4 separate regions of the Homo sapiens genome follow, and regions 2, 3 and 4 are each linked to region 1. The links are contacts of gene promoters, found by promoter capture Hi-C in blood cells and fetal thymus (Javierre and others, 2016). All regions are on one chromosome and are shown on one strand. Each heading gives the region's core, a stretch centred on a gene start or on the middle of the fragment in contact. The rest is flanking DNA. Distances are from core to core; before and after follow the strand shown. Region 1 holds the start of GNA14 (G protein subunit alpha 14). Region 2 has its middle 24 kb from the start of CEP78. Region 3 has its middle 3.9 kb from the start of PSAT1. Region 4 has its middle 41 kb from the start of CEP78.

The links. The method cuts DNA at HindIII sites, captures the fragments that hold promoters and counts their contacts. A CHiCAGO score of 5 or more calls a contact.
Region 2: a contact is called between a fragment that was not itself captured here and the fragment with the promoter of GNA14 in region 1, in 1 of 17 cell types (erythroblasts). The highest score is 5.4, in erythroblasts.
Region 3: a contact is called between a fragment that was not itself captured here and the fragment with the promoter of GNA14 in region 1, in 1 of 17 cell types (M2 macrophages). The highest score is 5.2, in M2 macrophages.
Region 4: a fragment that was not itself captured here is called in contact with the fragment with the promoter of GNA14 in region 1 in 2 of 17 cell types (erythroblasts and monocytes); the score reaches 5.2 in erythroblasts.

What each region holds. Positions count from the first base shown.
Region 1 is chr9:77,646,570-77,653,271 of GRCh38, reverse strand. It overlaps GNA14 (G protein subunit alpha 14), which reads left to right and starts at 4,950. Exons shown (of 7, transcript NM_004297.4): 1 at 4,950-5,602. The coding sequence starts at 5,479. The HindIII fragment of the contact is 2,117 bases long and covers 4,572-6,688 here.
Region 2 is chr9:78,209,315-78,215,604 of GRCh38, reverse strand. No RefSeq gene overlaps it. Among named protein-coding and RNA genes, the nearest start is that of CEP78, 24 kb to the left of the region's middle. RefSeq lists an enhancer at 4,289-4,608. The HindIII fragment of the contact is 2,297 bases long and covers 2,548-4,844 here.
Region 3 is chr9:78,289,859-78,296,654 of GRCh38, reverse strand. No RefSeq gene overlaps it. Among named protein-coding and RNA genes, the nearest start is that of PSAT1, 3.9 kb to the left of the region's middle. RefSeq lists enhancers at 1-284, 175-444. The HindIII fragment of the contact is 3,581 bases long and covers 2,765-6,345 here.
Region 4 is chr9:78,192,381-78,198,279 of GRCh38, reverse strand. No RefSeq gene overlaps it. Among named protein-coding and RNA genes, the nearest start is that of CEP78, 41 kb to the left of the region's middle. The HindIII fragment of the contact is 3,395 bases long and covers 1,384-4,778 here.

The DNA.
Region 1 (6,702 bases), core at 3,701-6,200:
TGCCTACTCACAGTCATGTGTGTTTGAAGGCAGACTTCATTGTCTATCATCCCAGCGTTTTCGGTAACAGTTATATAATAAACAATTTCTGGTCTTCAGACAGAGAATATTGTAGAGCAACATGTTGACATGTTGATTGCCTTAAAAAAAATAGATGTTGAGTGCAAGCAACCACTAGCATCAGTATTACACATCCATCTAAATATCCATCAGTTGGGAACAATAGATACTGGGGACTCCAATAGTGGGGAGTGGGGGCAGGGGAAAGGGGTGAAAAACTACCTATTAGTTACTGTGTTCACTAATGGGGTGACAGGTTCAATTAAAGGCCAAACCTCAGCATCACAAAATATACCCATGTAACTAACGTGCACATGTACCCACTGAATCTAAAATTTTTTTAAAAACAATCAATCAATCAATCATTATCCATCATTGCTCCATCAACTCTCACCTACCAAACTAGAGCCAATGGGTGGGATGGGGAGTAGAAGTGACGGGGAAGAAGGATTGAAAACATTTTAGAGAACACATTGAACTCAAACTGAAAAAAAAAGAACATATTGGATTCAGAAAAATGAATTAGAAAATTTGGAATCATTTACACTAACACATTCAGGAGATGGACAAGCAGACTCCCACTGATGACTGAGCTGCTTAAGAGTTGATACACGTACAATTAAAACTAAAGTTTTTCTCACTGAACTCTGGGTATTTGGCTTAAAAATAAAATAAAACTAAAGATGTGGTGGCTTATGCCTGTAATCCCAGTACTTCAGGAGGCTGAGGCAGGGGGACTCTATGAGGCCAGGAGTTCAAGACCAGCCCGGGTAATATAGTGAGACCCTGCGTTTACAAAATATAAGAATAAAAAAATAGCTGGACATGGTGGCATGGGCTTGTAGTCCTAGCTATTTGGGAGGCTGAGGTGGGAGAACTGCTTGAGCCTAGGAGTTCAAGGCTGCAGTGAGCCATAATCACGCCATTGCACTCCAGCTTGAGTGACAGACACTCTGGCTCTTAAAAAAAAAAAAGTTAAAAAACATTTTATTAAATAATAATACATACAGCAACCTTGATATTGGCTCTTTATATTTTATTCTTAAGAAAAAATATTGGCCACACCCTAGGAATGTGTCACAACTGCAGTTTGAAAAATGCTGACATAGAGCAGCAAAGGTACATTAGTATTAGTGCTTTGTGAACTTCCTCAAGGTCCTATTTTTACTCTATGTTACTTGTTAAGTTCAGAGACAATACACTTGTGAAAGTGAACTGCATCTTTCCAGCCCTCTATTTGCACATTTCCTTGGCATTCTGAATTAGAAACAGGGCAGTCATTCTCTCTAAGGGGGCCAGTGGCAGGTGAGGGCAGCTCATATATACAAGTTCTTCCTAAGTTATACATTCATTTGTTTTGTACTTGCTTATTGGTTTTCACTGTCTTCCACCACAAGAACCTTCTTTTCTTGCATCTCAGACTAATTCTTCTTGGTTTCAGTATTTAAGGTTAGTCAACTGAAACTTGCTAATTTAGGAATACCAGGATAAGTAAGAAAAACTCTTTACCTGTGAGTAACTCATAGATTAGAAGAAACAGACGGGTGTAATAGAGTGAGATGTTGACAGTGTTCCAGCAGTAGGGAAAGATGGATGTAACTGACAAGGGCTGGAGTTGCTTCCTCAGAAGAGATGTAATTGAAAAAGAAATTACCTAATTTTGCCTAGGGTAAGAGATGGTATTCCTGGAAGATGGAACAGCATGCACCGAGGCATGGAGGCAGGAGGTAGGGAGAACAGAAAATTCCATTTGTCTAGAGTTCCAGGAGAGTGATGGAAGATGAGGCTGCTGTGCATATCTGTAGGCCTGGGGAGCGCCCTCAGGTGACTCTGTGCTCTCACTGTTCTCTGGAAGGAAGCAGGAAGGGGTAGGTTCAGATTTCAGGGTCTCAGTTTTACTTCTTTCTACTAGACTATAGCTCTACCGAAAGTCTGGAATTGTCTTATTACCTGAATCCTCACTGCCTGGTACAGGGGCTGGTATGGACCTAGTGGACATTCAGAGGGATATCAGACAATTAGCTCACCCCTGTAGCCCCACACTTGGTGGATATCTGAAACTCAGGTCCAGTCTGCGCTCTCGTCTTCAAGATGAATAAAATAAAATTGCAGCTTTTTTGAAATAACTTAGGAAAATAAATATTCTCTTTTATTGAGAACTCTTCTCAAAACTACCCCTTCCTGGAAAGATGTTTCCAATGAATTAATATCTTAAAATTATTATCATTTTACCTTCCAGATTCTACAGATAAGGAAAACAGAGATGAATAAAACATAGAAGTATAAAAATGATTGACTTGTGATATCCCAGTTTTCTGTTTCTTACCAGTGGCTGATGCTCAATAACAACTTTAGGTTTTTGATTATTTTTAAATAAATTTATTTTGGATAAGTGTGAATGTCATCAAAGAAATAATGCATGTTAGAGTTGGGTGATCCTTTTGAGCTTATTCTGGCTTATCCCTCTCATCTTATAGTTAAGGAAAGTGGAGCCTAAATAATTTTATGCAAGCTGCCCCAAATTTTTTCTTTCTTTTTTTTTTTTTTTGAGACGGAGTTTGGCTCTTGTTGCCCAGGCTGGAGTGCAATGGTGTGATCTTGGCTCACCACAACCTCTGCCTTCCGGATTCAAGCAATTCTCCTGCCTCAGCCTCCCGAGTAGCTGGGATTACAGGCATGTGCCACCACACCCAACTAATTTTGTATTTTTAGTAGAGATGGGGTTTCTCCATGTTGGTCAGGCTGGCTGGTCTCGAACTCCCAACCTCAGGTGATCTGCCCGCCTCGGCCTCCCAAAGTGCTGGGATTACAGACGTGAGCCACTGCACCCAGCCCAAATTTTCTAATGAACAATGAAAATCAACCAAACAGCCATGACTCACAGCAAGCTACCTTTTTGATGTGTGTCCCTTCAGTCTCTTAAAAATGTGTATGCGTATTCTTATACTAAAATCTTATCATACTCTTTATATTTTTGGATCTTGCCTTTTTCATTCAATATATTTTGAGGATTTTCTCCAAATTTATTCACATGTTTACTACTCGCATATCCACATATTTAATGGCTCCAAAACATCTCATTGTATGGATAAACCATGATTTAAGTGATCTCTTCCCTGTTGTTAGGTATTTAGGTTGTGAGTTTTTGTTGTTGTATTGGCAATAAAACCTTTGCATCAGTCATGAGGCTTCTTTCTAGTTATTTCTTAAGGGAGAAATTACTGGTTTGGCCGAAGGGGACGGACATGTTTAAGGCTTCAGATATATACTGCCAAGCTGACTAGCCCAGGAAAGTTGTACAGATTTGCCCTAATCAATATGTTTCATAACTGTTTTTGAAATCTTGCCAACTTTAAACCTAATAGGTCAGTATCAGTAATTCCCGTTAACGTAAGAGTTCAAATTTGCCCTAGTTTTAATCATTTAAAAATTTTTTATAATTTTTAAATGATAACAATTATGATGCAACCATGACTTTGAGAAGCCAAGAGATCTTATTCTCAAATTGTAAATGAATCCGTAAGAGCTAAGAGAGAAGAAACAGGCTATTAAATGGCCAAAGATCAAATCTGAAATGTCCAGGAGTTTTCCTGTAGGGGTCACTGTTACTGTCAATTTATGCCTGCAAGAAAACTAAAATAGTCACACATTAAAGCATGTATGCACATTTTTAATGTCTGATTCCTCTACATTTCTTAAACTGTAAAATAATAAGAACATGCAGCCAGATAGCATCGCGATACCAACTTCTTTATATAATGACACGTACCATTCCACTCAATGTGCTCCTCAGTTTGAATTTATAAAATATATGCTACTCAAATGAAAGGCACTTATGCCTGCTCTTAGTAGAGGAAGCGCTAGCTAATTGCCTAACGCCCCATTAGCATATGGCCTATACTGACTTGAGAAGGAAAGAACGTTCATTGCTGTGGCCAATAGGATCCCCTCTCCCCACCTTCCCTTTTCTGCATCAAAATCTACACAGACAAAAGTCAGATGTTGTAATATGCATTTTATCGTGTCACTTAAGTACTAAGAGGTGCTTTTAAAGTTTTTATTAATGCTGCTCAAACTTGACCCCGACGGTCCAGGATACAGGCCAAGGTGTCAGTGCGGACACAATCGCAAGGCGGCTGTTAGGCTTCAGGGCTGGGCAGGAAACTTGCCAGGTGCTACTAGGAACGTATCAGCCCTTTCTACAAAGCAGGTGTCTTTCCCATCATAAAATGCAAAGCAATCAGCCGTTCCCTTTCTCCCCAGCCCCCTCGTCCGGAGACCGAGAGGATATTTACCCTGGGCTCTTGCAGTTCTCTTATAACTGAACCCAGCGGCGGCTCCTTCTCCGAGCTCAGAGCCAGCAGGCTCAGGCCCAGCCACACTTTACAGGCAAATTGCCGAGCTGACCAAGGGCTTTGGCCAAGCCCGAGCTGGGCCGGGGCGTCCGGGAAGCGGAAGGAGCCAGTCTAGGAAATCCGGGTGTGCGTGGTGGTGAAGCTGGTGGGCAAGCTTCCACTTCAGGTCCGGGGCTTTGTGTCCCGCAACAGACGCTTGGCGCCGCTCCTCTTCCAGCCTGCTGCCGCCTTCTCCGAGCGAGTGAGTTGGCGAAACTCACTCACCTGTCGGAACCCGGTGCCTGGCGGCCAGACGCGCAGATTACAGCAAACCTTGGCCGGGACGCCCCAGCCAGGGAGGCAAGTGTGGGAGCTGCTCCTAGAGGTGCCAGCTCCCACCCCCAGCTCCGCGCCCCCTGCTCGTCCCCTTTCACTTCCAGGCGCCTTCGGCTTGGGGTGCCCAGAAGGGCAAGTCCAGCAGACGCCAGGGCTGCAGGTTCAAGATGCTCCGCCTCCTCCTGCCACTTAGAGCCACAAACGCTAGCGGGAACCTTTCCACTCAGTCTTAGTCTGCGGTCACTGCTGAGGTTTTCAGAACTTTCCAGGCAAAGGCCAGCCAGGTCCTTTGCCTCCAACCCACTCCGCGCCTACCTCCCGCCTGGGGACACCCCTAGGCCCAGGAGATCCTACTCTCCCCCGAGCACCGACGTTCCAACTCGTCTGCGCCCCCGACTGCTGTCCGGCTCCTGTGCCAAGGGGCGCGCGCATCTTCCCGGGGCCAGCAACGCTCCCAACTTCTCGACTCGCCCTCCTCCTCCCCAGAGCGAGAGTGGGGCGGGCTGAGCCCGGATCCGGGGTGCACTCGAGCGTTCCCAGCGCTCGGCATTCACCCCGCCTCAGAGCCGACTTTCGAAGGGGGATTGAGCCTCGGAGGTCCAGGCGTCTTACTCCAAAGCTCAAGTCGGCCCCCGTCTTTTCTTTCCACACCCCTGTGCCCGTCGCATGCTGGCCGGGTGAGCGGCCGGGCCGAGGATTCGGGTGCCCGGGGCCGCGTCGCCCCGTCGGGTACTGAGCTGAGCGCACCATGGCCGGCTGCTGCTGCCTGTCCGCGGAGGAGAAGGAGTCGCAGCGCATCAGCGCGGAGATCGAGCGACAGCTTCGTCGGGACAAGAAGGACGCGCGCCGTGAGCTTAAGCTGCTGCTGCTGGGTGAGTGGCTGCGTCTCCGACTCCAGTGAGCCGGGCGTTTTTCTTCCGAGCCCTCCCGGCCTCTCCACTGGCACCCGCGCGGCCCTGGAGCCCAGCGGGGTGCAGGGCGGCTTCGTCCTTCTCCCCCTCGGAGCTCACGGATGCCAGCAACTTGGGGCCTTAGGTGCCTGTTCTTTCCATCTCTGGCTGGGCGACTTGCAAAAGCAACACCTTCCCCTGCCCCAAAACAGGATAGGGACCTGTAACACTTAACCTCTTGACCGCTGTACCTTATGTGTTCCGGTGTGCCCCTCTCCTCAAAACCCCGTCCACTCCTCCGCCCGCAGCACACCCAGCTTGGGGTCTGTGGTGACCCACATCTTGGGTTCAGCGCTAGCTCTGACCCGTACGCTTTCAGTTCTAGATGAAGCATCTTGAGAATTTACCATGTGCCAGATCGTGCTAAGTTCTTAAGGGCATCACCACCTGGTGATGCGGGCAGGTGATATCGCTATTCTAGAGAATTAAAACATGGAGGCCTGGAGAACTGACCAACTTGCCCTGATTGAGAAAAGGCAAAGCCGATGCTAGGTCAGCTGTGGGGGTGAAGCCCATGCCGTTGCTGCTCCTCTGACCGTGAGCTCCTATGCCTGCCTCCCATGGGGGTCCCTCAGGCCTTTGTGTTTGCAGCGGACCCAAACCTCCCTTGCCCAGCTTGACTCAGTGTGTCCACGTCCTAGGATTCAGCTTGGCTGCCCTGGTGCCTCTGGCAGGTCTTCATCCAGCTCTTTTGGTGTCTCTGCAAAGGTCTGGGTAGGACATCCACTTTCAAACACAGAAAGAACACAGTTTAAGGTTTGCCCAAGTTATGCCATGAGGCAAGGATCCCATCTCAGACTTTCTAGAACGCTGTCAACACATTTGCTGTTTGAGGAATATTTTACCTTTTCTACCTTTCAGACCATGATATCAGCTGTCAATTTTTTTCTAGATAGCCACAAAGATTTCAACTTTTTTTCTTTCACCCCTTTTGAACAGGAATCTTCTCTTATACCATCTATTTATTCATCTTTATTCCTTGTATAGGAATCACCCTCCCAGAAAGCTTCAAGGAAAGAAAA
Region 2 (6,290 bases), core at 2,447-4,946, 560 kb before region 1:
TAGAACATATAAAGAGGCCACATATAAAAGATCCAACTGACAGCCCCAGCGAAGGCCCCAGCCCACAGCTAGACATTTAAGGGAACGGGCCTTCAGATGATTCCAACCCCAGCCTTTGAGCTGTGCTAGCTGAAGCTCAGTAGAGCAGGGAGGAACCACCCCCACTCACCCCTGCCCAAAAATGCAGATTCGTGAGCAAAATATATGTAGTTGCTTTTTTAATCCACTAAATTTTAGAGTGGTTTGTTATGTAACATTCAATTCCCGGAACATTACCCAATGTCCACAGACCTACCTGAGACATTTGGAATCTCCTGTGGTAGGGTCACCTTTTGTCATGCGATCACGACCTGGTGATCTTGCTATGGGTTTCTTTTGAGTTCAACCATCCTTCTCTCTGGACATAGTATGAAGCAGTTTGGCTAGATACATAGGTGTTACCAGCTTCAGCCTGGCTTAAGAAAAGATGTAGCTAAGTACTGAAAGAATTTAACTACTTCTTTTGCTGGTAAGGTAGCTCTCCGGGCCTCTGGAGGACCAACCAGTGGCACAGAAGTGTAACTCTGACACTTACTAGTTGTGTGATCTGAGCCAAATTCCTCAAATTCTCCAAACTACATCCGTAAAATGGGCATTATGATACCCATCTCATTTATGTAAGCTTGTAGCTCAAGGTCTGGCTTATTTTAAGTGTTCAAGAAGTAATAGGTGACTGTTTTAATTGAAAGTTAAAATGTTCAAATTTTTTTTTCTCTTAATATGTAAAATAACCTCATTGATGGAGGTTGTATAAACTTGCAAAACACTTCCATACTTAGTAACCAACTGTAAGACTACGCTACTCTGGACTCTGGATTTTTCAGCATCAAGTAAGGGACAGTAAATATTTATAACAGCAACACAATCCTTGTTGCCACAGCTCACAAGGGCCTATTTATTAAAACAGGTGGCATTAAGCCAAGAGTGACTATTAAATTTGTAAGTTGAATTTTTTTGAATAGTGATAGCCCCCTTACTAAGCAAAAGAAGACAAAAAAAAAAGCCCTACTTCTAACACTTGGGAATTTCTAACTAAATAGTTTCTTTTTTGTGATGGCAAGATTTATCCCTTATATTAGAAACACACGTGAGACCGTGAGACCATGAATCCATGGTATGGGTTTTAAGACTGCAGAATTAGCTGGACTTAGGGAGCACTTAGTTGATCCTCAGATCTCAAGTGGGGGCCAAATTTAATGCTTCTGAGTAAGGTTATTTTTATACATGAGATTCTATGTACTATTTACTAGTAATTTTTTTCAGCTTTGTGCATGCATCAAAAACTCAGTCATTTTACAAATTGCAACATAAATAGCAATTCCATCCACACAGTTTTTGGCAGAAAGAAGTTTCTTTCCACAAAATCCACTCAGTTTTGCTTGTTTTATTCTCCTATTTGCCAGTATATACTAAGGAGAATCCATTCTTACTGATATTGCTGGCCTTTTTAAAAGCCTTCCCACTTGCCTCTTACAAACTGAGGCTCTACTGACAAATGGCTTTTTCTCCCTGCATTCTGTGGAAAGCTTACAAATGCTGAATGCTAAGTGGAAGGCAACCAAAACCCAAATTCACAAACGTGTGCACTTGAAAATGTGCAGTTGGAGTCAATCCTTTGTCTGGAGCCCAGAGGAAAATACTTGATTCTGTTACTAGGTGGCAATGTTCCTTTACCAAAAGGGTGGTTATTAGCGTCTGCTCTAAAACAGAAAGGAAAACGCTGCCTTCTTGACCCATCCTTAGCAACTTTTTAACCAGACTTCTTGGTTTAAGACCACAAAGAGACATCAGTAATGTCAGAAATTCCAAGGTTGGAGTGCACAAACGAAAACTTATTCCCCTGGTCACTGTACATTGCAAAACTCTATGATATAAAGCACATGGTTGCTTCCAATGACTGTAAAAATCCTCTCTAGGCTGGGACTAGAAGTATATTCCAGGCCTTAGTGAACAAGTGATATAATCTCACTTGTCCAATGATCAGTGGTATAGTATTAATTTTATTTATGAAAAAACAGCCCTTGCATTGAGGTTCTTTTTAAAAAAAGGAGTTTCTTCCATCCCATTATCAGTTAGGGTTACCAGATTTAGTAAATCAAAATACAGGACAGCTAGTTAAATTTGAATTGCAGATAAACAATGAATACACTTTTTAGTATAAGTATGATCCTTGCAATAATTTGCAACTACTGATACTAAAAAAATTATTTGTTATTTATCAAAAAAAGTTCTGAATGAGTGGGCCTGGTACCTACATTTTAAAAAATACGGTGTTTTCCGTACAGATAATTCTCAGATCACACTTTCAAATAGCAAGAGTCTGAAGCTGTGAGATCATGAATCTCCTTGAGAATCAAGTCTTTTCCCAGAAAACACTCATATAAACTCAATACTTTCACACAACTTCAGTGAAAGAACTGAAATTCAGAATTGGCTAGAGCCTACAAACCTCATGAACCCCAAGTTAAGCACTAGCCTTAGTAATCTCATGTGGTTTACTGAAAAGCTTGGCTCTTCCACAGAAGTGAGATGAGAACAGGCTCATTTTGAGCCCTCCCACTTGGCCTACTCTTTGTCCTTCCCAACACTTCTCAGCACAAGGAGAGCATTTTTTTTTTTTTTTTTTTTTTTTTTTTTTTTACTTTCCACAAGAAATAATCCATAATCCCCTGCAACAGTATGAGTTCCCTACTTAAGTGACATGCTTTTTCTTTAGTGCCTCCCAGTTACCTCTGTAAAAGGATTGTTTGGAAATAGGGTCTGCCTGAATGAAGCCTAGAGGCTGTAAACAAAATTCCTCTTCATCAAAGATGCAAGTAAACAATTCTGGGCCAAACTGAACCACAGAGAGGTCATCTTAAATGCCCATCAAGCCATAAAAGGGTAGCCAGGGGATTGAAATTTTACACCTGTGTAAGGCAGGGAAGTAATACTGAAGTTAAAATAAAATAGCAGGCTCATACACTTAAAGATGGTTATTAAGCAGAGGTTGTCACCTTATCTCTGTGAGAACTAGTCTTGCAGATGCCTTGAGAAGAAGGAGTCCCAGCGTGGGACTCTGAGGGCCTTGGTGTGCTGACCCTGTGGCAGGGCCATTGCCCACTACACACTAGCTTTGGGTGGGAGGTGTAGAAGTTGCAGTGAAGTCCCACACTCATGGAGCAGCTGTAGTGCTGAGAAAGTGCATTAGAAGGCATAGGTTGTGTTCAGAGATAAGGCACCCATGATACCCCTCTGAAGTCCCTTTAAGGTGCTCATCCTGCCACCTGTAAAGCATCTAAGGCACCCTGGCCCCAGGTCGGGGGATGGAACCACAGTAAGGCTGTGGTATTACTGTCCCTTGGAGCTGAAATAAGTGCCGGGTAAGATGGCACTGGGACTTGGTTGAGTCACTAAGGTAGAAGTCCCAAGGCCCTCCATTAAATTTCTCCCACCTGAAAGTCTGGGCCTCATGAAGGTAAAAACTGCTACACAGGGAAGGTGTCTCTGAAGCTGCTGGAGCTCCCTGTTGGGCTGGACCAGAGCCCTTCCGTAACCTCGGCACTCTTGCAAGAGAAGGCAACCCCACTGTATTATACTCTCATGGGCTGGAATAGGCCGGAGTCCCAGGCTTTAGCGCTTTGGGTTTATAGGGATAACCACTTCTCCAGAAGTACCATGGTTAATTTATTTCAATGACTCTATTGGCTAGCCTCCTACTGGCTCTCAACCTAGCCTCATGGACCTCTTTAATTCATAAAGGTAGGCTGGCATGGGGAGAGTATTGCTCCATTTTCCTTTGGAGATGGAAGTCTTAGTATATCTTAATTACCAGACAATGGAGTCTTCATTCCTTCTTTAGATTTGCCTAACCAAGAAAACCTCAGAGTAACATTCCAAGAGCAAAGATGAACATCTATCCTGAAAACAAATAAACAAACAAGCAAAAAAGCTGCTTTCGACTACAAAGCTACAGCAGGACACTTTCTCTGCAGTGAAATGACTGAGTCAAAGGATACGGGCATTTGAAAAGCCCTCTTTTGTGTAGCCACTATGTGGAATAAAGACAACTCATGTGATATAACTGTAAAACAATTTCTTATTTCCCAGTGCCCCTTTAACTGTTTCGTTCTTCCTCTCTCCTGATTGAAAACTCCTATAGTCCCACGCGATGATCAAAATTTTAATCTTCGTTCAAAGGTCAATCATCCTGCCTTTCCCACTGTGGTACTGTTTCAGGACAAGGTCGACTTCTCCATCCTACCCATAGCACTTTCCCTCCATCTGCCCATCAAGGCTATGATTAGGCCACCTGTAAAAGTCTGTCTTGGCTTCCTCAGGCTGGAACTGCAAGGTGGGAAAGGAAGTGAAAAGGGCGAGAAAGTTCTTATTTGATTGATGTTGTCAGTGGATGGCTTCTGCTTGCTGGAGCGTGAAGCTGTTTTTTTCTCTTATGTGCATTTTTTGTGGGTTATCATGAAAGCTGCCATTGTTGGGGGATGCTTCTCTTTCCGTTTCTTTGATGTGGGAAATGATGTCTCTTCTAGCTGGTCACTGGCAGCTCCTCTTGCGACTTCTCACCATCCAGTGACCCACAGCTAGCTTCCTTCTTCTGATGTTCTCTTAGTCTTCAGATAGCCCTCAGAAAGATTCTTGATGCTCCCAGACTGCCTGCCTCTCAAGAGTGGTACAAACCTCTTCCTCAGGAAATACACTTTCTTTGGCCACAGCCACCTCTCCTAGATCAGCTTCTAAATACTTCTATCTCACTGTGTTTACATTTCTTAGTGGGAATCAGACACAAGTATAGTCCCCTAAATCAAGCTTGTCCAACCTGTGGCCCATGGGCTGCATGCAGCCCAGGATAGCTTTGAATGCAGCTCAACACAAATTCATAAACTTTTTAAAACATTATGACATTTGCTTGCAAATTTTTTTTAAAGCTAATCAGCTGCTGTTAGTATATTTTTATGTATGGCCCAAGACAATTCTTTCAATTGTCTTTCAATTCTTTCTTTTGGTCCAGGGAAGCCAAAAGATTGGACACTGCTGCCTTAAACTGAATGTAGCACATCTTGAATTCTCTATGTGGGCTCCTTAAAACCGTTAAGTGGGAAACATCTTCTATTCCTCACCCTTGTTGAGGTATCTAGCACTCCAACATCTATCTCCAAAATCCTCCTCCCAGTTTCACCTTCAACCTCCATGTACTTCATCCTCTTTGTATTTTTAATGTGTGTGAGGGATGAGTTCTGTCATTGGTGTTCAGATACTTATTTTGAAAATTTGTATTTTGTTTTAGCAACTCACTTTGAAGTGCAATATATATTGTATCTTGATTCCTCAGTCAAAATCTTCAAGGAACAGCCAATTGCATAAGAAAGATTTGCTCTTGTTCTCACTCATAGGTGGGAATTGAACAATGAGAACACATGGACCCAGGAAGGGGAACATCACACACCGGGGACTGTTGTGGGGTAGGGGGAGGAGGGACAGATAGCATTAGGAGATATACCTAATGCTAAATGACGAGTTAATGGGTGCAGCACACCAACATGGCACATGTATACATATGTAACAAACCTGCACGTTGTGCACATGTACCCTAAAACTTAAAGTATAATAATAATAAAATTAAAAAAAAGAAAGATTTGCTCTTGTCACATAATCATAATTTCATATCAGGTATAAACCTGAAGGATTTGCAGGTGATATCATTGCAACTGCCATTTACTAGCCACCCGCAATATTCATTTACTCTTGAGATATTATTCATTGGTGGCCCTATGGAAACCAGATCCTCATTTGATTTCTCATTGATGTCGTCATTACTAAATCTTTGAAGGTATGGATCAGCTTTTCCACTTCTTCCATGAGCTTCTTGGGCTCATCCACAGAGGCATAAAAGTACTGAGAAAACTGGTTGATATGGTTACTATTTTGCTTACACCCTCAAAAAATTAAATACAATGTGTTTGTTAAAGCAAAAGTTGATTGATGACTTACGTATAATAAAAGCCATACACATTTATCACAAAAAGCCCAAATTGCAAAGAAAATTAGAAAGTGGAAAAAAGTAATGCGTGGTCCTACCACCCAAAGAGGTAATGAGATAGTCGTTTTACTTAATTGTCTTCCTTTTTTTCATAATTGTAATAATAATGTACTGATCCCTGGGTCCCGCCCCAAATATTCAGATTTATTTGGTATGGGGGCATGTTCTAGACTCAGTGTTTTTCAAAAGCTCCTTAGGTGATTGCGACATGCGGCAG
Region 3 (6,796 bases), core at 3,306-5,805, 640 kb before region 1:
TCTACCAAACTTTTCTAAGCACCCCCCACGGGCGTCAGATACCCCAGTGGAGAGAGAGGACCCCCCCAAGGTTGGAAGCGCAGGATGAAGAAGGGCCGGGGGTGGGTGGATACGGTTCTTTGTATTTGCACGTGGGTCCTGAGTTCCTGCAGGATTAAAGAACGGAGGTGGCCAAGGACGCAGGGAGGAGCGATAGCCTGGGAAGCGTGGATGCCCGCCAGGCAAGTCCTTTAAAGTCGCTGATTCTCCATTTCCTCCTTTGGGAAACGAGTGAGCTGGAAACCTGCGACAGCTCTCAGGTTGCGCCCGCGCTGACAAGCTGTGAGTTTAGAAACGTGAGGAGATATTAACAAGAACGCGATACCCATAGGGCGCTGCAGCCCAAACCAGAAGAAGGTGGCCCCTAGCCAGGCCAGGCGCAGGGCCAGAGCTGCTCAAACTTTTCCACAGAAGTGTCCTTCTCAAAAGAACTCCAGTGGAGACCCGCATGGGGTTCTGAAACAGAATACCCTCCCCCTACCCTGCAAGAAAGAAGTTCCTTTGAAGTCTGGAATTTCATCATTTTTAAACTGTGAATTTTGCATTCTCTACCATAATTTAACCTAGTTTCTTTTAATGTAAAAATATTTTCCCTGTCTGAGTAAAATTGATGCGCCAGGAATATATACAGTCCAACTGCCCCGTTTAGAGAAGGCTTGTAACTGGACAGGACTTTGGCTTTTGTTTGCTTTTCCTAATGAGAATGTGGGCGGTATGGGGCTGAGAGCAGAGGCACTGCTCTGGATCTGGGAATTGGAGGACAAAGTTTCCAGAAAAAGGCAAAATGAACAAGGCCCCTGCGTTCCTCAGCAACTTCATTAAGAAAACCGCGACATTCAAGACAGAATAAATCTCAGCCCAGAAACTCAGGCATGCAAGAAGCATCACATATCCATTATTTTACGTAAATAACTCAGTTATTATATATTAGTAGCTGCCCCTAGCAGCTTATCTACTGGAGACTAAGGGAGTCAGCCTTCATCCTTCCTGGAGTTAGTTCCTAACACCAGGGCTATACACAGTCCCATGTAGTGGGTTGGGAGAAGGGACAGCACATCCATTTGGTCCTCTGTTCCCAAAAGATATGGCTGAGTTGTTTCCACTGCCCAAGCTGATGTGGCTGCTTGGGTTGATGAGCAACCTACTACTTCTGTATCCCACTAGGGGCACAGGAATTTGGGGTGGGGTGGCGGTGGCTATTGTCTCATCTGCTAAGACATCCCCTGCAGCCATTCCTCCCGGGGGTCCTGCAGTTTCCAAGATGGTATTTCAGGGACACAAGTCACACATACAGTCAGCCTCAGGACCCACTGACCTCTGTTTGTCTTCCTCCCGCCCCTGGGCAATCTCCTTTTCAGTCTAGAGAAAATCTGTCTTTTCCATGTTTCTTCCTCACACTGTGCCCACAAACACCTTAAACCAGAGCCACAAACTCAAATGCCTCCAGGGGCCACTCAGGGATATGAAACAAGTAGTGGGAACTGTGGCAAATTGAGTTCACCTGTCCATTTGTGGCACAGGTGCACGCGGCCACTGCACATTTATGATTCCCCCATCCATGGGATAGGGTTGATGGCAGGAAGTGGCTGCTCAAACCGGCTTCATGTTTCCCAGCTCCCTTTGCATCTAGGTGAGCCACATGACTGGGTCCCCCCAGTGGAATGTGGGCCAAGTGGATGTGTGTCACTTTCAGGCCAGGGTGGTTGAGAAATGGGTGTGCTTCTCCACTTCCTTTTTCCCATTCCACAGGCTGAAAACAAAAAACTCCCTGGCCCCTAAGGACAGTGGAGACACAGCAAAGAGGGAGCCCCAGGTCCCTGAATCACCTGCACCAGACTTGTCATATGTAAGTGAGAAATCAGCTTCTTTTGTGCTATGTCACTGAAATATGAGAGGCGATTTGTTACAGCAGCTCACATTATCCTGATTATTATGCCATCCTAAATGCAACAGCTGAAGTTCAGATCCAGCTGGTTGTTGCCAAGCAGGCAAATGAAGTTGCTTGAGCTGTCTTCACGTTTTGAAAGAAAACCCAGGAACCCAGATTTTTATGTGACATCTCATTTTTAAACATCTACAAATGTAAATTTCAGCAAAACACTGTACAGATCAATATTTTGAGGGGCAAACTCCAGCTTATCTGAGGCCTTATTGAGCCTACAGGTAACAAGCTCTCTGAAGGACTGTTTATAGTGTTCTGCCCCCAAATTTCCTCCAGTTCAACAAGGAACACCCTCAGCTAAGTGCTTGAATAAAGCAGCAGCAAAGGAGGAAACATAATTTAATCTCAAAATATTATTTTGTCCTTCTTGCCTATTTTGCACTGATCTATAAAGACAGTCCAGGCCGGGCACGGTGGCTCACGCCTGTAATCCTAGCACTTTGGGAGGCGGAAGCAGGCAGATCATGAGGTCAGGAGATCGAGACCATCCTGGCTAACACGGTGAAACCCTGTCTCTACTAAAAATACAAAAAATTAGCTGGGCATGGTGGCGGGCGCCTGTAGTCCCAGCTACTTGGGAGGCTGAGGCAGGAGAATGGCATGAACCCGGGAGGCGGAGCTTGCAGTGAGCCAAGATCGCGCCACTGCACTCTAGCCTGGGAGACAGAGTGAGACTCCATCTCAAAAAAAAAAAAAAAAAAAAAGACAGTCCAGAGGAACCCCTGCATGTGGGAGGGATCCTTCCCTCTTAGTAGATTCTCATTTAGCAAGTACAAAGAAGCTTCTTTATGAAATACATATTTCGTAAAAAGGCAGAAATTCAATTTTCACAAGTATTATTCATTGAGTACTTCTATATGTGAAAGATGCTGGGCTCTGCTGCGATTGCCAATCAGACCCAGCCATCCTGTTTAGAGAGCAGTGAGAAGAGAAGTAGGCAACATGAGCAGGGGAGAAAATCTATTTGGAATGAGACAAGATTATTTCTGCTGCCCTTTTTGTAGTTGGAGCTAAAGATCCTTTTCCCTTATCATTATTCCCAGAGAACGTGAGGAAGGGAAGCTGGGCCCAGTGGCTGACGCCTATAATCCCAGCACTTTGGGAAGCCTAGGCAGGCGGATCACTTGAGGTCCGAAGTTTGAGACCAGTCTGGCCAACATGGTGAAACCCCGTCTCTACTAAAAAAAAAAAAAAAAAAAATTAAAAATTAGCCTTGCATGGTGTCCCGCACCCGTAGTCCCAGCTACTCAGGAGGCTGAGGGAGGAGAATTGCTGCCCCCAGCTCCAGCAACCACCATTCTACTTCCTGTCTCTATGAATCCGACCACTCTAAGTACCTCTTGTATGCGGAGTCATACAGAATGATTGATCCCGGGAGGCGGAGGTTGCAATAAGCCAAGATTGCGCCACTGGACTCCAGCCTGGGTGACAGAGTGAGACCCTGTCTCAAAAACAAACAACAATTTTAAAAAGTGGGAGAGAGGCAGTAATCATAGTTTATGTAGCAAAAAGAAACCAAAAGTCAAAGTCCTATTACTTTCTTTATTCTGACCCCAACAGATAGGAAAAGATATCCATCCTACTCTCTTTACCTCAGTTTATTTCCTTGCCTACTTTGCTTCATTTTTTTATTGACAAAATATGCATAACATAAAATTTACCATTTTCAAGTGTACAGTTAAGTGGCAGTAAGTACAGTCATATTTTTGTGCAATCGTCACCACCATCCACCACCAGAACCTTTTCATCTTCCCACACTGAAACTCTGTACACATTGAACTATAACTCCCGCCACTCCCCAGCTCCAGCAACTACCCTTCTACTTCCTGTCTGTATGAATTTGACCACTCTAAGTACCACCTGTAAGTGGAATCATAAGAATTTGCCCTTTTGTGTGACTGGTTTATTTCACTTAGCATAATGTCTTCAAGGTATACCCATTGTGCTTCATTTTTTTTTTGTAGAGATAGGGGTCTCGCTATGTTGCCCAGGATGGTCTCGAATTCCTGCCCTCAAGTGATCCTCCCACCTTGGTCCAACAAAGTCCTGGGATTACAGGCATGAGCCATTGCACCTGGCCTCATTTTGCTTTATTTTTAAAGATTAGTATAGATGTTTAAAAGATCTTTAAGCTCCGCACAAGTGAAATCCCTAAAGAGGTTATTTAAGAGGCACGCTCTCTGTGGACTAGTGGGCAGAATTACACAGGGGATGCACACTGCTTCTACCTCTTACATCCTTAAAAGATTTCAAAGTGGAAAAAGCATCAGAATTTATTTAACTTTTTTTTTTTTTTTTTTTTAGAGAAAGGGGCACAACTCCTGGCACCATCTCTAACGTGTTTACACACTGGTATTTTCCACTCCCAGCCCCGCTGGCTCTGCTCATACGCGTGTGCATTTTTGGGATCAGCACTCTTCATGAGGGCTGCCTCACAGAAGGGTTCCACATGGAAGCCTGAAAACTAGCCACAGACCACTCGTTTCACCACCTGTGCAAAGTCAACACATGCCTATTTCAGACAACCATCCAGGCTGTTTGAGAACGACTTTTGTAGAGTTAATAATCTGTGGGTTGTTTTGTTCTTTCCTTTTCTTTATGAGGCCAGAGGAAATACTAAGGCAAAGCACAGAGAGAGAAAATTCAGGGATGACGGGAGCAGAAGCCAGTTCAGGATGTGAAAAGTCTTGCTTTTTCCTCTTCTTTTTCTCATGCTTCAAACTGAGTGCCAGCTCCAAAGAACCACGCACACTGCCTCAGAGATAAGCAGGGACTGTCATTTAATTGTATTGTTTGGCTTATGTCTTGTATAGAAAGGCAGCAAAGATTAATTAAAAATAACAAGAATTCAAAGCTGCTGGGGGTGAGAGGCATTTCTGTAACCATCAAAACGAACTGGGCAGGGGCAAGGGGAGCAGCTGGCTTGAGGGGAGGGAGCTGGAGGGGAGGGAAGACTGGCTCAGCATGTTGTGGTGTGTGCATCTGAGGCATATCCAAGCAGGGTGTGTGTGAAGACTTTTTAATGACGTAAGAATACGCCTCATATGAAATATCAAAATGAAAGAAAAAGCTGCTTCTCATCAGCACAACAATTAACTATCTCCAAAAACAATTTTTTTAAGCCCACCTCCTTGGAGTCACAAATTCTACTCAAACTTAGACAACAAATTATAGTCCCAAACCAGAACATCAACAGATGTGTTCAGATTCATTCATTCAACAAGTACCGTCACGCATCGCTTAACAACAGGGATATGTTTTGAGAAATGCATCCTTGGGCGATTTCATCGTTGTGTGAACATCATAGAGTGTGCTTACACAAACCTAGATGGCACAGCCTGCACACACCTAGGCTATATGATACAGCCTAAGCCTATACAGCATGTTACTGTACTGAATACAGTGAAGATTTGTTGAATGAAAGAATGAGGTTACATATACTATACCTATTGTGATAATTCTGCTAAAACAAGGAGAGGTCTGTTCCAAAGTTGATGTCTTCACCCCTAGAGACAGAAAACTGCTTATTATTATTAATTATCCTGCACCCCTTTCAGCAGAGTTTCAAAGGAGGTTTCATCTTTCCTCATTCTCAAATTCAATCTGTTCTGCTTCACAATTTTTCTGTGCTCTATCGACTTCTATCTCCATGCTGCCTGCCTCGTCCAAGCTCCCATGATCTCTTCTAGACTCCTGGGCCTGGACTCCTTGCATTGACATCACTGACTTAGAATCCAATCTCCAAACTGCAACCACAGTGAACTTTTGAAAACATACGTAAGGTAGATCATGTAGCTCCTCTGCTCAAAGTCCTCTAACAGCTTCCCGTTACATTTAGAACAACAATCAGACTCCTAATGGGCCCACAAGACCATACTTAGCCTGGTTCTTGGTCATCTCTTGGCTCAGCCCTTGCTTGTTTCTCTGGAAACTCACCAGCCTCTGCAATAGTACTTGTTTGTTGTCCATTTCCACACTAGACCATAACTTCCCAGAGAAGCTGAGACTGCACCTGCCTTTTTCACTGCTGTATCCCCAGCATCAAGCATATTAGGTGCTTGATAAATATTTCTTGAGTGAATGTACAGGGCAGGAAGAAGGAAATTAATGAAAATGCTAACAGTCTGTTGCTGGGTTGATAATTCTAAAAGAGTGAGGTGAGGATAGGCATAAGACCACCAAAAACCCCTGAAGATCCTAGGACGCCACTCTGCACCCTTTGAGAGCCTGTGGTTCTTCAGGCCCATCCTCCCACAAGTCATTTCTGCCAAGGCTGAAGGCCTCATCGAGTCCTAACATGTCGCCATGCAATTAGGATTCTAGCTCAGTTTCTTCAATGCTGAGTGAAGCTGCATGTGGAAGCTTACCAAATGATATGGTTTGGCTCTATGTCCCCACTTAAATCTCATGCTGATTTGTAATTCCCAATATTGGGCGAGGGGCCTGGTGGGAGGTGATTGGATCATGGGGGCAGATTTCCCCCATGCTGTTCTCGTGCTAGTGAGTAAGTTCTCATGAGATCTGATGGTTTAAAAGTGTACAGCACTTCCCCCTACCACCCACCACCACTTTGCCATATTAAGACGTGCTTGTTTTCCCCTTGCCTTCTGCCATGATCATAAGTTTCCTGAGGCCTCCCAGCCATGCCTCCTGTACAGCCCATGGAACTCTGCATCAACTAAAACTCTTTTCTTTATAAATTACCCAGTCTCAGGTAGTTCTCAGCAGTGCGAGAGTGGACGAATACACCAAATAATTCACCTCCATTCAGCTTGCACTAGATGCAGTCACACTTATCTGAATTTGCACAACCAC
Region 4 (5,899 bases), core at 1,832-4,331, 550 kb before region 1:
CAATAGCCTTCTTTTCCTTGATAGCATGTCTTGCCAAGTTCATCTAAAGTTACTGTCTATATTTTTCATCTATTCTCCGTATTGACTCTACGTCCATGAAGATTAGTTGTATTTGTTGAGTTTAGAGCCTCTTTCATGCAATCAGTTTTCTCATGAGTAACTCTTTCTCTTAACTACAACTATTTCTGAGTTTGGGAATATTCCAAGGCTCTTGTTGTAGTATTCACTTTTTTTCTCATAGGAAGTTGAGAGTTGCTCAGCTCTCATGGGTTTTGTCATCAATCTTTTCCCTCTTGGATCTTCCAGAAATCCCTGAGGGTTTTTGAAGTATGGTGGCATATCTTCAGGCCTGCACAATACACAAGTATAGGTTTATGGTTGTATATGATTCTTGCTTCTATTTATATTGACGTCAAGCACTCCAGGCCTGGACAACAAAACAATAATAGAAAATTATTTTGTTTTCTATTTGGTTATTGCTTCTTGCATATATTTGGTCTGAAGTCCCACAAGGGGGAGAAGTGAGCATCCAGAAAGGACCCTTTGATTCTTGGCAGTAATGCCATCATTACAGCATACAAAATCCCTCCTTCCCAAAGCCCATACATATTGACTACCAGTGAGGGTCATGTGGATATCTACATAAGAATGAGTATTGGGGGCAAAGTATCACATAGGGAAGAATGAGGTCCTTGGTGCACCTGTGACAGCTGATACTGTAACTCAAATTAATATTAGTTTTTAGGAAAAGAGAGACTTTGGAGCCAGAAAATGCTCATCTCAAAACGGAACTTCCATATATAAATGTTTTAGGTCTGGCAAGAGGAGTAATTTTTAAAGAATTTTTCACCAGAGCTTTTTTTCCCCTTTATTGTATTTCTCAGGCAGGATGGTGGGCCAGTATTTTAATCTGTAAAAGTCATTTCATTCCTAAGAACTTGAGAACACTAATGTGTAAAATATTTGGAATTTAAATTCTCAGTACACTAGAATGTTAGTTCCAAATCTAGTTTCTCTTTTTGCTGTTTTGAAGAGAAGTCAAGGAAAAGAAAATCACTGTGGAATTCAGCTTTGGATTCAAGTGGCTTGTCCCTAGGTCCTGAAATTTACCACCTGGCCCCTCCCCATCATGGTCTCCACCAGCATATGGTCTCGTGCCGGTTCTAACTTGTTCATTTCATAAGCTCAAATCTTAGATGTGAGTCCAGTCTGTGGGATCAATTGTGGTGGGCTGGAGCTAGGGGTTGGCATAAGGGTGATCTTGTTTTAAATAATGAATATGTAAAGAGAATTGGAAACCCATATATTAGTCAGGTTGATGTAGAGGAAAAAACTCAGTGTCATTCTTAAAAATTCAAGAGCTGAAGAGGAAATTTAAAAGCTTGTGCCCAAACACTGTGCCTCCAGGATGCAGGTTTGCTTCAAACCCCAAAATGGAATGTGATCATCTCATGAAACAGGTGTTCGTCATACAGTCAAGACAGGCAGAATCTGAAACATGTCTTCTATTTTCTCTCTCTTGTTTTCTTTGTCTACCCACCTTTCCCAAGAAAACATTGAGTGTCTGCTATGTTCTTTGACTGCCAACAGCAAGGCGGTCTCGATTATACCATCTGCTGAAATCTAGAGGAATAACTTTGCTTGGAAGCAAACTGCTGTCATGACTCCTTATTTGCTTTATTTTGTGGGCATAGGCTAACCCACTGATGTTCTTGCATGTTCTGCTGATCCTTATGAGTGTCAGAAAACCAGAGTGGTGAGACAAATGGGTTTGGATTAGTCCTGTTTTAGAGGTGTTTGAGGGAGCTCCACCCATCCCAGCGGAAGATGTTCCAGGCCACAGCTTCTGAAAAAGGAATTGAAACTCCATCTGAGTTTAGCAACTCCAGCTGAGAGCAAAGAAAATAAGAAGTGAGGATGGTGAGAATAAGAGACCATAATTTCTTTTAGATTTTAATTTCAACCAAAGGAGATAGATTCTGTTTCTCAGCTTTAATTTCTCTCTAGTGAATTAAATGGGAGAATGTTCATATTGTTTCAAGTTTGGGGCATTCTTTATTGCATTACTTAGGCTTGTGGAATAAACTCCAGTGAGCCAGTCTGAACATCATGATTGTGCACAGGAAATAGAAAATAGAATAGGAGTGAATTTTTTCCCTTAAATAATCTGCAACCTTTAAGTTAACTTAATATACTGTTGTGACTCACTTCAGGGACTTCTGGGGGCAATAGTTAAACAGATTCTAGGAGGGTTCTAAGGGATAAGAGACGACATAATATAATGTCATCTAGTGGGTAGAAGCCAGGTATAATATTGGGGAAATTTCTCCAAGTCTGGTGGAACCAAGCTACTTTACAATACTGTAGGGCTCTGACCAACTGATCCTGTTTGCCTGGGACTTTTTCCTTTTTTTTTTTTTTTTTTTTTTTGAGATGGAGTCTCGCTCTGTCTCCAGGCTGGAGTACAGTGACGCGGTCTTGGCTCACTGCAACCTCCGTCTCCTGGGTTCAAGAGATTCTCCTACCTCAAACTCCCAAGTAGCTGGGATTACAGGCATGCGGCACCACGCCCAGCTAATTTTTGTACTTTTTTAGTAGAGATGGGGTTTCACCATGTTGGCCAGGCTGGTCTTAAACTCCTGACCTCGTGATCCACCCACCTCGGTTTCTCAAAGTGCTGGGATTACAGGCATGAGCCACCACGCCCAGCCGCCTGGGACTTTCTTAATTTTAGTGTCCCAGGAACCCTCACCCTATCCCTGTATGAGTGGAGGATATCCCACTGTCCATGGACCTTAATCTGTTTGCCATCCCTGGGGGATGAGAGGCAATAGGAAATGAAGATGAACGTGGAGGGGACTCTTTAGCTATCTCTGCCCACCTGTTCCCTCAGAAGGATAAAGGGAGGGGTTTTTTCATGGTCTTCTTCTTCAAATTTTTTTATTTTTATTTTTTTTAGAGAGAGAGAGAGAGACAGGGTCTTGCTCTGTCACCCAGGCTGGAGTGCAGTGACACCATAAGAGCTCACTGCAGGCTCAACCTCCTAGGCTCAAGGGATCCTCCCACCTCAGCCTACTGGGTAGCTAGGACTATAGGCATGAGCCACCGTGCCTAGCCAAGAATAGAGATTTTAGTCAACATGGTAAGACCCCCTGGGCTTTCATCAAGTGGTGTTTTGTTTTGTTTTGTTTTGTTTTGTTTTGTTTTGTTTTGTTTTTGAGATGGAGTCTTGCTCTGTCACCCAGGCTGGAGGCTGGAGTGCAGTGCTGCAATCTTGGCTCACTGCAACCTCCACCTCCCAGGTTCAAACAATTCTCCCGATTCTCCTGCCTCAGCCTCCCAAGTAGCTGGGATTATAGGCGTGCACCATCATGCCAGCTAATTTTTATATTTTTAGTAGACACAGGGTTTCGCCATATTGGCAAGGCTGGTCTCGAACTCCTGACCTCAAGTCATCTGCCCGCCATGGCCCTCCCAAAGTGCTGGGATTATAAGCATGAGCCACTGTGCCCGGCCATCATCAAGGGTCTTTTTACTTGTGGGTAGAAGTACTGCATTCTAAAACTATGCACCCACAAAGGAACTATTCTCTTGCTTTCCTGCCTCAGAACAAAGTGGAATCTACTTCCCAGAGACCCGCCAACCATTCTGTTCTCCTCTAGTTTCGCGGGGGGATTTTGGCCCCCAGGGGACATTTGTCAACGTCTAGAGATATTTTAGGTTATCACAACTGGGAGAGGTGGGTGTGCTACTGTCATTTAGTGGGTAGAAGCTAGGTATGCTGCTGAAAATCCTACACAGAACAGGTCAGTACTTCCCCACCTACCCCAACAAAGAATTATCTGCTCCAAAATGTCATTAGTGCCAATTGTGAAACACTGCTCTTCGCTTTTTTCTATGCCATGAGAATATGTATGTAAGTGAACCGGGGTATGGGCCATACTTCCTTTGCAAATACACTTGAGTGTGTTGCTTACATGTGAGGAAGCAGGAAGTCTCACTTAGGTTTCCAGGTCTTAGCCATGATTTTGAACATAGGTTTTGGGAAAGCCTTGCATTGTCTATTCTGTGTAATGATTTAAGAAGGAATAATAGGTTTCCCTTTTGCTGGTTATTCTTCATATTTGGTTCCCTCTTGTTATGATATCCCAAATCTCATATTGAATTGTACCTCCCATAATTCCCATGTGTCCTGGGAGGGACTGGGTGGGAGATAATTGAATCATGGTTGTGGTTTCCCCCATACTGTTCTTGTGGTAGTAAGTCTCACGAGATCTGATGGTTTTATAAGAGGAAACCCCTTTTGCTTGGTTCTTATTCTCTCTTGCCTTCTGCCCTGTAAGATGTACCTTTTGCCTTCTGCCATGATTGAGAGGCCTCCCCAGCCGCATAGAGCTGTGAGTCCATTAAACCTCTTTTTGTTTATAAATTACCCAGTCTCAGGTATGCTTTTATCGGTAGTGTGAAAACAGACTAATACACCTCCATTGGGAATTCTGTAGGGAAGAGTGATGAATATCAAGCTATGACATGGGTATTCCTTGTTCCTGGGCTATAGTACCATCATAATATCATGAATACTTTGCCTCCAGCCATAGCTCCTCCTCTATCCATGTAGCATCAACCTTTCTCTCTATGCAGAGTCTTTCCTACGAGTGGGAAAACATGCTCGTATTTCCTCCAACTGTTTAGCAAATAAAAAAAAATTAAAAACACAATAAAAAGCCCCTTTTCTTGATCTCACATCCTTATTCTCTTCTTCATATAATAGTGAAGCTTTTTAAAGTTAGTTGAGAAATGGCAAATTTAACACAGCCAACAAGTGTTCCATTAATATGTGGTAGTTGATGAGGTGAGCCCATGCTCAGACACAGACCAGATATGTGGCCACAAGCAAAGCATAGGTTATTGCTTTCATGCAGCCCACCCTTAGTAAATATTGCTAAGGATGAATAAAAAAATTAAGCATTGAATCACCTTTCAAAGCTCTTGCTAAAATCTGGACATGAAAACATTAAGAAAGTAAGGAAAATTCAAAAGTTCAGGATCTTCTGGGTTGGGAACAGATACTTCCAACTCTGGAAGCCAGATTCTCACCTTCCCTGGTTCCCTTACAACTAGAACACAAACATTGACCTACAGCTCAGCAATCAAGTGCTCGGAGTCAGACTTTGACTCAGTAACTAGCAACACAAAGAGTCAGGAAATCAGCGACTGTGCATAGTCAATTATCGGGATTGATCCTGGGAGAGCCCCCTCCACCTTCCAGAGGCAGTAGTGATGTTTTCTTTAGCCAGGTCAAAGGTCCAGAAGGGGTGATGAGACTACCACTGGCTAAGTTTCTTATCCAGTAGTGGGGGCAGTGTGGACTATGTGGGATCACTTCTGTGGACTTTGGATGTTTCTTGCTACGTAGCCTCTAGATCTGCTTCTTCAGCTTTCCTGGATATGAAGAAAGCTTCCAAATATCATTTAATACATTAGTTTCTGACTCAATTGCCCAAAATGTGTTTCTATTGTTTGCCACTAAGAACTCTAATTGGTACCCCGCTGAGGCTCCTTAGCCAAGTGGCAACCAAATGTGGTATAAATATGACACTGTCAGGCCCTGTTGCAAAAAGGGCAGTCAAGCTAATTGTTGAATAGCAACACCATATTTGATTAATTCCATTTCATCCCTGATTTTTCCTTCTCTGTTCACTTCTTCCCTATTGTGGTTGCTGTATCTGTTAGAATAAGAGTGGTATCACTCTTTTTTTTTTTTTGGATCTTAGGGTGAAATTTCTTCTTGTCCCTTAAGCTATACCTAAGCCTTGGGCACACAGTAATAGATGAATAAAAAGAAAAGAAAAAAAGGCAAAAGTAATAGGAAAATAAAGGAGAAATGATAAGAAATATG